Linked DNA regions of Homo sapiens: all the other regions are linked to region 1. The links are contacts of gene promoters, found by promoter capture Hi-C in blood cells and fetal thymus (Javierre and others, 2016). All regions are on one chromosome and are shown on one strand. The core of a region is centred on a gene start or on the middle of the fragment in contact, and the rest is flanking DNA. Distances in the headings are between cores, read along the strand shown. Region 1 holds the start of FRMD3-AS1 (FRMD3 antisense RNA 1). Region 2 has its middle 12 kb from the start of FRMD3. Region 3 has its middle 26 kb from the start of IDNK.

Evidence for each region. The method cuts DNA at HindIII sites, captures the fragments that hold promoters and counts their contacts. A CHiCAGO score of 5 or more calls a contact.
Region 2: a fragment that was not itself captured here is called in contact with the fragment with the promoter of FRMD3-AS1 in region 1 in 1 of 17 cell types (endothelial precursors); the score reaches 5.1 in endothelial precursors.
Region 3: a contact is called between a fragment that was not itself captured here and the fragment with the promoter of FRMD3-AS1 in region 1, in 1 of 17 cell types (monocytes). The highest score is 5.1, in monocytes.

The regions. Positions count from the first base shown.
Region 1 is chr9:83,216,397-83,220,741 of GRCh38, forward strand. FRMD3-AS1 (FRMD3 antisense RNA 1) reads left to right here and starts at 2,949. Exons shown (of 3, transcript NR_184120.1): 1 at 2,949-2,981. It also overlaps a transcript of RASEF not described here. The HindIII fragment of the contact is 11,674 bases long and covers 1-4,345 here.
Region 2 is chr9:83,547,887-83,551,958 of GRCh38, forward strand. It overlaps a transcript of FRMD3 not described here. Among named protein-coding and RNA genes, the nearest start is that of FRMD3, 12 kb to the left of the region's middle. The HindIII fragment of the contact is 2,633 bases long and covers 1,088-3,720 here.
Region 3 is chr9:83,647,477-83,651,659 of GRCh38, forward strand. No RefSeq gene overlaps it. Among named protein-coding and RNA genes, the nearest start is that of IDNK, 26 kb to the left of the region's middle. The HindIII fragment of the contact is 6,539 bases long and covers 1-4,183 here.

The sequences.
Region 1 (4,345 bases), core at 1,699-4,198:
AGCTGCTCCAGCCATGGCTAACAGGGCCCAAGGTACAGCTCAGGCTGTGGCTTCAGAGGATGCAGGCCCCAATCCTTGGCAGCTTCCACGTGGTCTTGAGCCTGCGGGTACACAAAAGCCAAGAACCGAGGTTTGGAAACCACTGCCTATATTTCAGAGGATGTATGGAAACACCTGAACGTCCACGCAGAAGTTTGCTGGAGGAGCAGGGCCCTCATGGAGAACCTCTGCTAGGGCAGTGCGAAAGGGAAATGTGGGGTTGAAGCCACTGAAGCCCCCACACAGAGTCCCCACTGGGGCACTGCCTAGTGGAGCTATGAGAAGAGGGCCTGTAAAATCACAAGCAAGTTAGTTAATTTCTAGATACAATGGGGGTAAAGGCATTGGATAAATATACCCTTTCCAAATGGGAGAAACTGGCCAAAACAAAGGGGCTATAGGCCCCATGTAAGTCTGAAATTCAATACTGTAGTCATTCTCCCCACCCCAGAATGGTAGATCCACTAACAGCTTACACCATGCACCTGGAAATGCTGCAAACACTCAACACCAGCTGTGAAAGCAGCTGGGAGGCAGTCTGTACCCTACAAAGCCACACAGGCAGAGTTGTCCAAGGTTGTGGGAGCCCACTTCTTGCATCAGCATGACCTGGATGTGAGGCATAAAGTCAAAGGAGATCATTTTGGAACTTTAAAGTTTAATGACTTCCCTATTGGGTTTCAGACTTACATGGTGCCTATAGCCCCTTTGTTTTGGCCAGTTTCTCCCATTTGGAAAGGGGGTATTTATCCGATGCTTTTACCCCCCATTGTATCTAGAAATTAACTAACTTGCTTGTGATTTTACAGGCTCATTGGTGGAAGGGATTTGCCTTGTCTCAGATGAGACTTTGGACTGTGGACTTTTGAGTTAATGCTGAAATGAATTAAGACTTTGGGAGACTGTTGGGAAGGCATGATTGGTTTCAGAATGTGAGGACATGAGATTTGGGAGAAGCCAGGGGCAGAATGATATGGTTTGGCTTTGTCCCCACCCAAATATCATTTTGAATTATAGCTCCCATAATCCCCACGTCATGGGAGGGACCCAGAGGGAGGTAATTGAATCATGGGGGCAGTTTCCCGCATACTGTTCTCATGGTAGTGAATAAGTTTCTCACTACCATGGTTTTATAAAGGCCAGTTCCCTTGCACACACTCTCTTGCCTGCTGCCATGTAAGACATGCCTTTGCTCCTCCTTCGCCTTCCGCCATGATTGTGAGGCCTCCCCAGCCACGTGGAACTGTGAGTCCATTAAACCTATTTTTCTTTATAAATGACCCAGTCTCAGGTATGTCTTTATCAGCAATGTGAGAACAGACTAATACATTCGGTTTCCTCATTCATAAAAATAGAGTTGGGGGGTGGGGAAGTGGGTCTTAAACTTTTCCTATCTCACGGTACAGGAATAAAGGGGGATAAAATATCTTAGGTGTCTGGTCCAGAAAAGGTAATTATAAATGTTACTTATGTTTCCTTCTCCTCCTAATTTATCCAATAAATGCAAAAACTCTGAGGCACTCACTGTCTTTTGCTCTTTATCCATTCATCAAACTTTCCTTGGAGCCTAATTGCATGCCAGATACATAACTTCATAAAACACATGTGGTTGTCTCTGGTCCTGTGGAACTACAGTGACAGGGGAGGGGGCAGAAATGAAACAGCTTACTGATAAATGAGTGAATGAATTTGGCTAGATTAATAGGAGTGGGTGAAAGGTAGCATGAATAAACACTCCATTAGGGAAAAAGAAAATTAAGCTAAATTCAAAGTACCAAGTGTGCACGTGGAAGCCAGATCCTGGGAGTTTCTGAAATTCTCTGCGCCTCCCTTTCCTCTTCTACAAAATGGAGATAGTAATAGATGGTAACTCTTTTGGGTTACTGTGAAAAGTAAAACAACACTCCCCTCCCTCATCCTCACTAACCCAGCATATCAACCAGTTTTCTGAGATGTCTAGATTTCCATTTGGCCTCCAGCCAGCTTGAACAGCCAAACTGCCCCCAAGAAAGCACCCTGAATGTGAGGTCATCCAGGGTCCTAGGACTCCATCATACCCACTCCAAAACTAAAAGCCCACAGACCGTGGGGGTAGGACCTGACTAGCTGAAACATGCTGACCAAGCTACCTGAAGCACCTCTGAGGTATGCCCAGGCCTCAGGGTTGTCAAGCAGAAAAACCAGCACCTCCAGCCAGGTGTGTCTCTCTCATAAAGAAAGCTGAAACAGTTTTCCCTGCTTCTGAGTGGCAAGCTCGCCCCCAGATGTTTCTGAGAGCACCGCCCTTGCATTCCCACCAGGCCACCTGAGAACCTGGCCTCCCACATCTGGATTCGGCTGAAGCAGCAGTGTTTGAGAGAAAGGTGAGACTGGACAGTCAAGAAAGGGACAGAAAGTCGACGGTCTGGGAACTATCCCAGCGTGGACATTTACAGAAGCCACATACCTGTGTGTCCTCACTCCTCACAGGAGGACCGTGCAAAGGCAAATTGCTAGGCAGGTAGACCTCACAGATTCTCTCAGCCGGGCAGTCGGTGAGTCTGTCCAAAGCATTTGAATCTGAAGATAAAATGTTAAGAAGAAAATCCTAGAAAAACATGTCACATATATTCTACCCACCGAACCAAACAAAAACAAAAAAGAAACACTTAATTTTTAATAATGGGCGCAAGAAGTACTCAAAGTAATAAATAATAATAATAATAAAAGTTACTTCTTAGCCTGACTGTCCTGGACGAGAATTCCGTCCCCACTTGCAGGTCGGGCACTGAGTGCCTGGACAGAGAGTTAGGTCCCCCGCTTACCCCGCCCTAAGGCTGCGGAAGGCGGCGCCATCGGTCGCCATGGAAATCGCGGCGGATGGGCGGATCCTGGGCAGGTTGGCTGGGTCGGGCTGCCCGGGCGACGCCGGAGTTGCAGTTGGAGGCTGCGGGAATACAAAGGTAAGAGAGCAACTCCTGGGTTCCCTTGACTCGCAAGGGCTTGACCCCTGCCCGGGTTCTGGGAAAGTGAAGCAGAAAGTCGCCTCCCAGCGCAGAATATTCAAATTTGCCAGATGATCAGAATTACGCTGATTTAAAACCCAAACCCTCCCTAGTTTCCCACTCCTGCCCTGCTAAATCAAAATCTCCCAGCCAGGATCCGGAATCTGGATTTAACCAGGGGCCGTTTATAGAGTTGGGAGATTGGTAGATACGAGGTTCGCCTATTCTTATTTCTCAACGCCATACCACTACCCCGTAATGGTAAAAGAATTTGCACCCCAAAATCCTCCCCAGCGGCTCTGAAATGGAGTGCTTGGAGCTGGAAATGCGGAGCCCATTCCTCTCCTTGCAATACTGAAAGTTGTGAGCTGATTGGAAGCGTCGCTGCTTCTTGTGGGTTTCCCACTGGGGGGCAGCCTCGTCCTTCGCTCCTATTCCTTCCGCAAAGCAGAGCCGACAGTGTGGTTTCTGGCTAATTCCGGCTGCAGCCTGGTTAATAATATAAGCAGCACTTCTAGGAAGCGGAGCTTGGATGCAGAGCAGAGCCTAGGGCTGTAAATGGAAGAAGCTCTCAGCCCCAATTCCTAGTTTACAGTTAGGGTTCAGAACAAAGAATCCACGCTTGTAAAGCAATAATGTTCCCCTTGAGGGGAACATTACACTGCCCTTCAGTTCACGTGTATTATTTCTCAGCCCCCCCGAGCTTTATCTTTCATTGGGCAATCAGGTGGGACTTCAGGATTGATGGAGCCAAGCGTTAGCCTTGGCTGCACACTGAGTAACTATGAGCCTCACCTGACCACCTTCAGGAGGCAGCGTGGTGGTGAGAGAGGACTCGCTTCTGCGCTAATGGGGATCGCCATAGCTTCAATGACTATAAAATCAGGACCTGTCGTATCTGCATAGCCTGTCTTAGAGGTTTACGGGACGCTCAGCTCAATAGAGTGGGATAATCTATGGGTCTCTAGTACCTCATGCATTTACTGTACCTTATTTTGATAACCTGTTTATAGGTCTGACTTCTGTTATTTCATGTATAGGCATTGTCAGCTTAAAATCATGAGATCTTAAATTTGGAGAGGAGACTTTATTTCTTATAACGAGTTGCAGCTTGCAGGGTGGCCATCATGACAGGTAGAAGCTAGCCTCTGGCAGAGACCAATAGCAGGCACTTCAGAGGATAAAAGGGAGAGGTTGAGATTTATGCCCAAGGAAATTAGCTATACATACATATTCAGTAGGTTATAGGAGAATCTTATGAATATTTATGAGTCAATACATATGCACAGAATGAACATGTATGTAACATACAACACATGTTC
Region 2 (4,072 bases), core at 1,154-3,653, 330 kb after region 1:
ATCTTCTCAGACTACAGTGGAATAAAACTAGAAATCAATACCAAAGCAGATATGCTGATGGCAAATAAGTATATGAAACAATACTCAACATCATATCTCATTACAGAATTACAAATTAAAACAACAATGAGATACTGTGATACACCAGTTAGATGGATAAGACCCAAAACTGACACTGACAATACCAAATGCTAGTGAGAACGTGGAGCAGAGGAATTCTCATTGATCACTGGTGGAAATGTAAAATGGTACAGCCACTTTGAAAGACAGTTTGGTAGTTTCTTATGAAACTAAACATAAGCTTAGCATATAATGTAGCACCTATGCAACTAGGTATTCATGCAAATGAGCTGAAAACATTTTTGTCCATACAAAAACCTGCACTCAGACATTTATAGCAGATTTATTCATGATTGCCAAAAATTAGAAGCAACCAATATGTCCTTTAATAGGTGAATGGATACATGAACTGTGGTATCTCCATACAATGGGATAATACTCGATGATTAAAAGAAATGAGCTATCAAGTCATGAAGAGACATGGAAGAATATTAAATGCATATCACTAAGTGAAAGAAGCCAATATGAAAAGGCTACAGAATGTATTATTCCAACTGTATAACATACTAGGAAAGGCAAAACTATGCAAACAGCAGTAAAAAGATTAGTAATTACCATGAGTTCAGGAGAGTGGGTGAGATGAATAGGTGGAGTACATTTTCAGAATAGTGAAACTATTATTCTGTATAATACTCCAGTGGTGAATACCTAACATTATGCATTTGTCAAAACCCATAGAACTGTGCAACATACATAGCGAACCCTAATATAAACTATAGGCTTCTGTTAATAATAATGTGTCTATATTTTTTCATCCATTGTAACAAGCATACCACACTAATGCAAGGTGTTAAAATAGGGGAAACTGAGGAAACGGGTAGGCTATCTGGAAACTCTTTGTACATTCTGCACAATTTTTCTGTAAACCTAAAAGTGCTCTAAAAAATAGTCTATTGTCTGGTCTGAGTACAGTAGTATTTACAACTAATTGATCACAATCTGTTACAGATTTCTTTTTTTTATTTTAAGCTTGAGGGTACATGTGAAAGTTACATAGATAATCATGTGTCATGAGGGTTTGTTGTACATATTACTAGATCGCCCAAGTACTAAACCCAGTACCCAAGAGTTGTGTTTTCTGCCCTTCTCCCTCCTTGTAACCTGCCCCCTCAAGAAGACCCCAGTGTCTTTTGTTTCCCTCTTTGTGTTCATAAGTTCTTATCATTTAGCTCCCACTTGTAAGTGAGACAATGTGGTATTTGGTTTTCTGTTCCTGCATTAGTTTGCAAAGGATGATAGCCTCCAACTCCATCCATATTCTTGTAAAATATATGATATTGTTCTTTTTTATGACTGCATAATATTCCATGGTGTGTATGTTCCACATTTTGTTTATCCAGTTTGTTACTGATGGGCATTTAGGTTGATTCCATGTCCTTGCTATTGTGAACAGTACTGCCACGAATATTTGTGTACATGTGTCTTTATGGTAGAATGCTTTATATTCCTCTGGGTATACACCCAGTAATAGGATTGCTGTGTTGAATGGTAGCTTTTAGCTCTTTGAGGGATCACTATACTGCTTCTCACAATGGTTAAACTAATTTACACTCCCACCAACAGCGTATAAGAGTTTCCTTTTCTTTGCAACCTTGCCAGCATCAGTTATTTTTTGACTTTTTAATAATAGCCATTTTGACTGGTGTGAGATGCTATCTCATTGTGCTTTTGATTTGCATTTGTCAAATGATCAGTGATATCGAGCATTTTTTTCATATGCTTGTTGGCCACATATATGTCTTCTTTCAAGAAGTGTCTGTTCATGTCTTTTGCCCACTTTTTAATAGGGTTGGTTTTTTTTCTTGTAAATTTGTTTAAGTTCCTTATAGATGCTGGACATTAGACCTTTGTCAGATGCATAGTTTGCAAATATTTTCTCCCATTCTGTAAGTTGTCTGTTTATTCTGTTGATAGTTTGTTTTGCTGTGCAGAAGCTCTAAAGTTTAATTAGGTCTCATTTGTCAATTTTTACTTTTGTTGCAATTGCTTTTGGCATCTTCATCATTAAATCTTTGCCCATTCCTATGTCCGGGATAGTATTGCCTAGGTTGTCTTCCAGGATTTTTATAGTTTTGGGTTTTACATTTAAGTCTTTATTTTATCTTGAGTTGACGTTTAGATATGATGTAAGGAATGGGTCCAGCTTCAATCTTCTGCATATGGCTAGCCAGTTATCCCAGAACCATTTATTGAATAGGAAGTCTTTTCCCCATTGTTTTTGTCAGCTTTGTCAAAGATCAGATGGTCGTAGATGTGTGGCCTTATTTCTGGGCTCTCTATTCTGTTCCATTGGTCTATGTCCCTGTTTTTATACCTGTACTATGCTGTTTTGGTCACTGTAGACTTGTAGTATACTTTGAAATCAGGTAACATGATTCCCCCACCTTTGTTCTTTCTGCTTAGGATTGCCTTGGCTATTTGGGCTCTTTTTTGGTTCCATATAAATTTTTAAGTAATTTTTCTAGTTCTGTGAAGAATGTCATTGGTAGTTTGATAGAAATAGTATTAAATCTGTAAATTGCTTTGGGCAGTATAGCCATTTTAATGATGTTGATTTTTCCTATCCACAAACATGGGATGTTTTTCCACTTGTTTGCATCTTCTCTGATTACTTCGAGCAGTGTTTTGTAATTCTCATTGTAGAGATCTTTCACCTCCCTAGTTAGCTGTAGTCCTAGGTAGTGTGTGTGTGTGTGTGTGTGTGTGTGTGTGTGTGTGCATTCATGTGTGAATTGTGAATGTAATTGTCTTTCTGATTTGGCTCTCAGTTTGGTTGTTAGTGGTGTATAGGAATGCTAGTGATTTTTGTACATTGATTTTGTATCCTGGAATTTTGCTGAAGTTGTTTGTCAGCTGAAGGAGATTTTGGGACAAGACTATGGGGTTTTCTAGATATAGAATCATATTGTCTGCAAAAGGAGGTAGTTTGACTTCCTCTCTTCCTATTTGTACACCCTTTATTTCTTTCTCTTGCCTGATTGCTCTGGCTAGAACTTCCAATACTATGTTGAACAGAAGTGGTGAGAGAGGGCATCCTTCTCTTGTGCTGGTTTTCAAGGGGAATGCTTCCAGCTTTTGCCCATTCCATATAATGTTGGCTGAGTGTTTGTCATAGATGGATCTATTTTTCTGGGGTATGTTCTTTCAATACTTAGTTTATTGAGAGTTTTTAACATGAAGCAATGCTGAATTTTATCAAAAGCCTTTTCTGCATCTATTAAGATAATCATATGGTTTTTGCTTTAGTTCTGTTTATGTGATGAATCACATTTATTGATTGTTGTATGTTGAGCCAACTTTGCATCCTGGGGATGAAGCCTACTTGATCATGGTGGATTAGCTTTTTGATGTGCAGCTGGATTTGGTTTGCAAGTATTTTCTTGAGGATTTTTGTATCAATGTACACCAAGGATATTGGCCTGAAGTTTTCTTTTTTTGTTGTGTCTCTGCCAGGCTTTGATATCAAAATGACACTGGCCTCACAGAATGAGTTGGGGAGAAGTCCCTCCTCCTCAATTTTTTGGAATAGTTTCTGTAGGAATGGTACCACCTCTTCTTTGTACATCTAGTAGAATTCAGCTGTGAATCCATCAGGTCCCAAGCTTTTTTTGCTTGATAGGCTATTATCACTGATTCCATTTTGGAGCTTGTTATTGGTCTATTCAGGGAATCAATTTCTTCCTGGCTCAGTCTTGGGAAAGTGTATGTGTCCAGGAATTTATCCTTCTCTTCTAGATTTTCTAGTTTGTGTGCATAGAGGTGTTTATAGTAGTTTCTGAGGGTTGTTTTTATTTCTGTGAGGTCAGTAGTAACAGTCCCTTTGTCATTTCTAATTGTGTTTATTTGGATCTTCTCTTCGCTTCTTAATTAGTCTAGCTAGTGGCCTATTTCATTGATTTTTTTCAAAAAAAAAAACTCCTGGATTCATTGATCTTTTGAATGGTTTTTCGTG
Region 3 (4,183 bases), core at 39-2,538, 430 kb after region 1:
TGGTGAGCAGCCAGGGGTGGGAGCCTCAGGGTAAGGTCTGACAACCAGGACCCCATTTGGATCCCCTGCTCATGCTGAGCCCACTTAGATGGCAGCAGCTGGGGGAATCTTGACGAAGGTGAAGTTTAGGACTGGATTAGTTCTCGCCAAAGACCCACTGGACAACTCACGAAAGGCCAGGGATGAAGTGCAGTCTCTAAAGTGGTGCTTTGGGCTGGTGATAGGCTGGGGAGCACCTAACCCCCAAGTGTGTAAAGCGGCTGATTTGGCAGGGATCGCAGGTAGCAGGTAGAAGGGACCAAAGAGATGGGTGTGCCTCTCAAGTGTTTCTCTTGGTGTAACAGCAGGGAATAGTCAATGAGGCATTCAGACGAAGTGAACACACAGAGAGATAAGGGAAAAGGTGTCCAGAATAGAAGAATCCACAGAGACAGACGGATGGGTTGCCTGGGATGGGGAAGGCGGGACTTGGGACTGGCTAACAGGTACACAGTTTCTTTTGCGGGTGATGGACATATTCTGGAGTTACACAATAGTAGTGATGTTTGCATAGCACAGTAAAATACACTAAATCCACTGATGCGCACTTTCAAATGAATTTTATGGTGTACAAATTTTTATCTGCCATTTTTTGATACTGGCAATTTTTTATCTCAATAAAAAAAAATCAATGCAGTTAATGCACCACTGTGAGGAGGGCCGCAACCCCAGCACAGGCGCCTCCCCACCATCACACTTGGAGAAAGTCTATGAGCTGGAGAGTAGGTCTGCGTCCAGCTCCCATGCACTTGACACCTAACAATGAGTGCTGGGTTTGAAGAGAGTTTTCTTTTTTCCTTTTTTGAGACAGAGTCTCACTCTGTTGCCCAGGCTGGAGTACAGTGGCCCAATCTCATCTCACTGCAACCTCCGCCTCCCAGGTTCAAGCGATTCTCCTGCCTCAGCCTCCCGAGTAGCTGGTACATGCCGCCACGCCCGGCTAGTTTTTGTATTTTTAGTAGCAATGGGGTTTCCCCATGTTGGCCAGGCTGGTCTCAAACTCCCGACCTCAAGTGATCTGCCCGCCTCAGCCTCCCAAAGTGCTGGGATTACAGGCGTGAGCCATTGTGCCTGGCCCCCATTTTATTTTTTAACTTTACCAAGAATTGTTTACCATTTTAGAAAATCACGATGTGTTTGTCACCGACACAACATACCCACATGCACTTGCATTCTTTCAGGGGTGACCCCACAATGGGCACAAGCACATAATGACTCCATCGTTTTCATTTAGTGTAGTCGTGCTCAAGCAGTACACACTGAAAGTTTATTCGTACTTTTTTTTTTTTTTTGAGACAGAGTCTCGCTCTGTCACCCAGGCTGGAGTGCAGTGGCTCGATCTCGGCTCACTGCAAGCTCCGCCTCCCAGGTTCACGCCATTCTCCTGCCTCAGCCTCTCCGAGTAGCTGGGACTACAGGCGCCCGCCACCATGCCCGGCTAATTTTTTGTATTTTTAGTAGAGACGGGGTTTCACCGTGGTCTCGATCTCCTGACCTCGTGATCCGCCCGCCTCGGCCTCCCAAAGTGCTGGGATTACAAGCGTGAGCCACCAGGCCCGGCCCTTATTCGTACTTTCATGTGTCCTTTACATTAGAGCTAAGGCATTATGTTTATTAATTGCTTAGGTACGTTTTGTTAGCAATCTCATTTTGTGATAGTAAAGGGGCATTGGAAAATAGTTGTTAAAAAGCAGGTGTTGAAAAGGAGTCTGGTGGGTTGAGAGCACTGTTCTAATCTTCCCAAACATGGTCCCGGGGAGACCGAGGTGTGGACCGGTACTGCCCTCTGGTGGCCGGGGTGGGAGAGACCCAGCAAGCACAAAGAACCCAGGGAAGAAGGGCCAGATGGTTTGCAGTGGCTCAAAATGGATGGAGATAAAAGATTCACCTTCTCCTCTGGGAGGATTCTCCACCCGCCCCCACCCCACCCCACCCCCGCCCAAGTCTCCATTCCCACCACCAGAAAAATTTCAGATTAAACATTTTTCTCTCCTGTAAAATGAGGGTATCACCTGCCTCGTAAGAATGAAGTCTTTTGGCTCTGATAGCTTAGCTCCCCACCGAGTCTCTGTCTTTCCACACCCCTTTCCCCAGCCCTTGGGCAGGTTACATCAGGCAGAGCCTAGGATGAGGTCCCTGAAGCATGGGATGACCCAGCAATCAGCTGAGCAGCCGGCTCTGGAATCAGGACCCAGAAAAACATGGGCTCAAGGCATAGCACTGGCGTAAACTAGCTGGGTGACACAGATAAGGCAGCCCTAGGGGATGTCACTAGATGCTGCCAAGGTCCAGTGCTCACATCCTGTGCCTCTCTAGAGTCTGCTCTGATAAGCAAACTATTTTTCAGTGGACAGAGTACAAGAACCAGGAGGAAACTATAACAAGCTGACTTTAATCAAAGACACCATCCACCAGGGATTTTAATTTTCTGAAACTGTAATATGCAAGTTTATTATCCCTTCACTGAACAGCACATCTGTTCAGAATATATCTGATCAAAGATATATTCAAGATCAGGGTATTAACTGTATCATGGGCCAGCAATTACCACGGAATTAGGATCTGATTAGGCATTCAGCCAATAAGCTGTGTTGAGCATCAGTGTGTGGAGTTGTTTCAGCCCAGCTTCACAGAATCTCATGTGTGAAATGTGAGCTGGTGCTGATTTCCTGATGATCATCATTCCCTCCAGCAGAGTTTCCCCCCAGCAACCTACCCTGGATGCTGTGCAAATTGAAGTCCACTTTGTGGGAGGTTGAAGTCACTGGTCATCACTTAGGAGGACCCCAGACCTGATGTTGAGTATCTAACACATACCTTAATCAGGGACCCAATCAGATGGTGCCTAAGGAAATGCCCTCAACCCATGACAGTCCATGGCAAGACTTGCAAATTTGATGGCCAAAGAATGTGACCAACACTAGTGGGATATGGGAGACTGAAGACTGTGACAAAATTAAAAATGCACACACTATCTGAATAGGGCAACAACTATGCAGCTCCAGACCAGATAACACAGGAACACAATCTGCCCTGAACAAGTTGGGTTGACTGCTCACTGTATAAGGAAGAACACACACCTCCAAAAACTGCGCGAAAGACTCAGTAAGATGTCAGAAAGGATTTAAGGTTTGGTTGCATGATAGGTAGTCCTGAGTAGGGTTCAAGGAAGCAGGGCTCTCTAAATGGATGCTGTCAGAAAGTGGGGGATAACTGGTTATCTTAAGAAAATATGCCGGGTGCGGTGGTTCACGCCTGTAATCCCAGCACTTTGGGAGGCCAAGGCGGGCGGATCACAAGGTTGAGAGATAGAGACCATCCTGGCCAACATGCTGAAACCCCATCTCTACTAAAAATACAAAAATTAGCTGGGCATGGTGACGGGTGCCTGTAATCCCAGGTGCTCGCGAGGCTGAGGCAGGAGAATTGCTTGAACCTGGGAGGCGGAGGTTGCAGTGAGCCAAGATTGTGCCACTGCACTCCAGCCTGGTGACAGAGAGAGACTCCGTCTCAAAAAAAAAAAAAAAAAAAAGTAAAGTGTGAAGAAGGAAGTGAAGCTAAAGCTATAACTGGTTAAGAAGCACATTAACAAGGACAGGGAGATGTCTGGTCATTTTTGCATCTTGGAAAATGCTCATGTTTTTCGGTGTTGACATGACTAAAGAAATGTTCCTTTGTCTTGACCCACCACGGCTGAAAAGCAGTCTTGTTCTGATGTAGGTGTCCTGTGAAATTGTGTATGCTTAGCAGGACATGAAGGCCTAGCTTTTAACACCAGGCCAGCATCTGGATGACAGGAACTACATTTTTCTTACTGTCAGATATCATTGTCACTGTCACTAAGATCTTTTAGGCCTCAATTTGAAAGTTTGGGACACATTATCTTTAGAATCACCAGGAGTTCAGATGGGAGGATTTAACTTCCCTTCTCAAAAAAATTAGAATTTGGTAGGTTTCCCACCCAAGGGCCAGGTTGTAGTAGCTGACCTCTACCCCGAGGCCAGATGGTTGAGTGACATGGACTAGTGGACTAATGTCCCAGTACATATACCACTTCCCCTTCCATCACTTGGCCTCTTGTGGTTAACCTATGTGGAACTGAAGACCTTGAGAAGTTATCCCATCTCACCCAACTCCAGCCAAC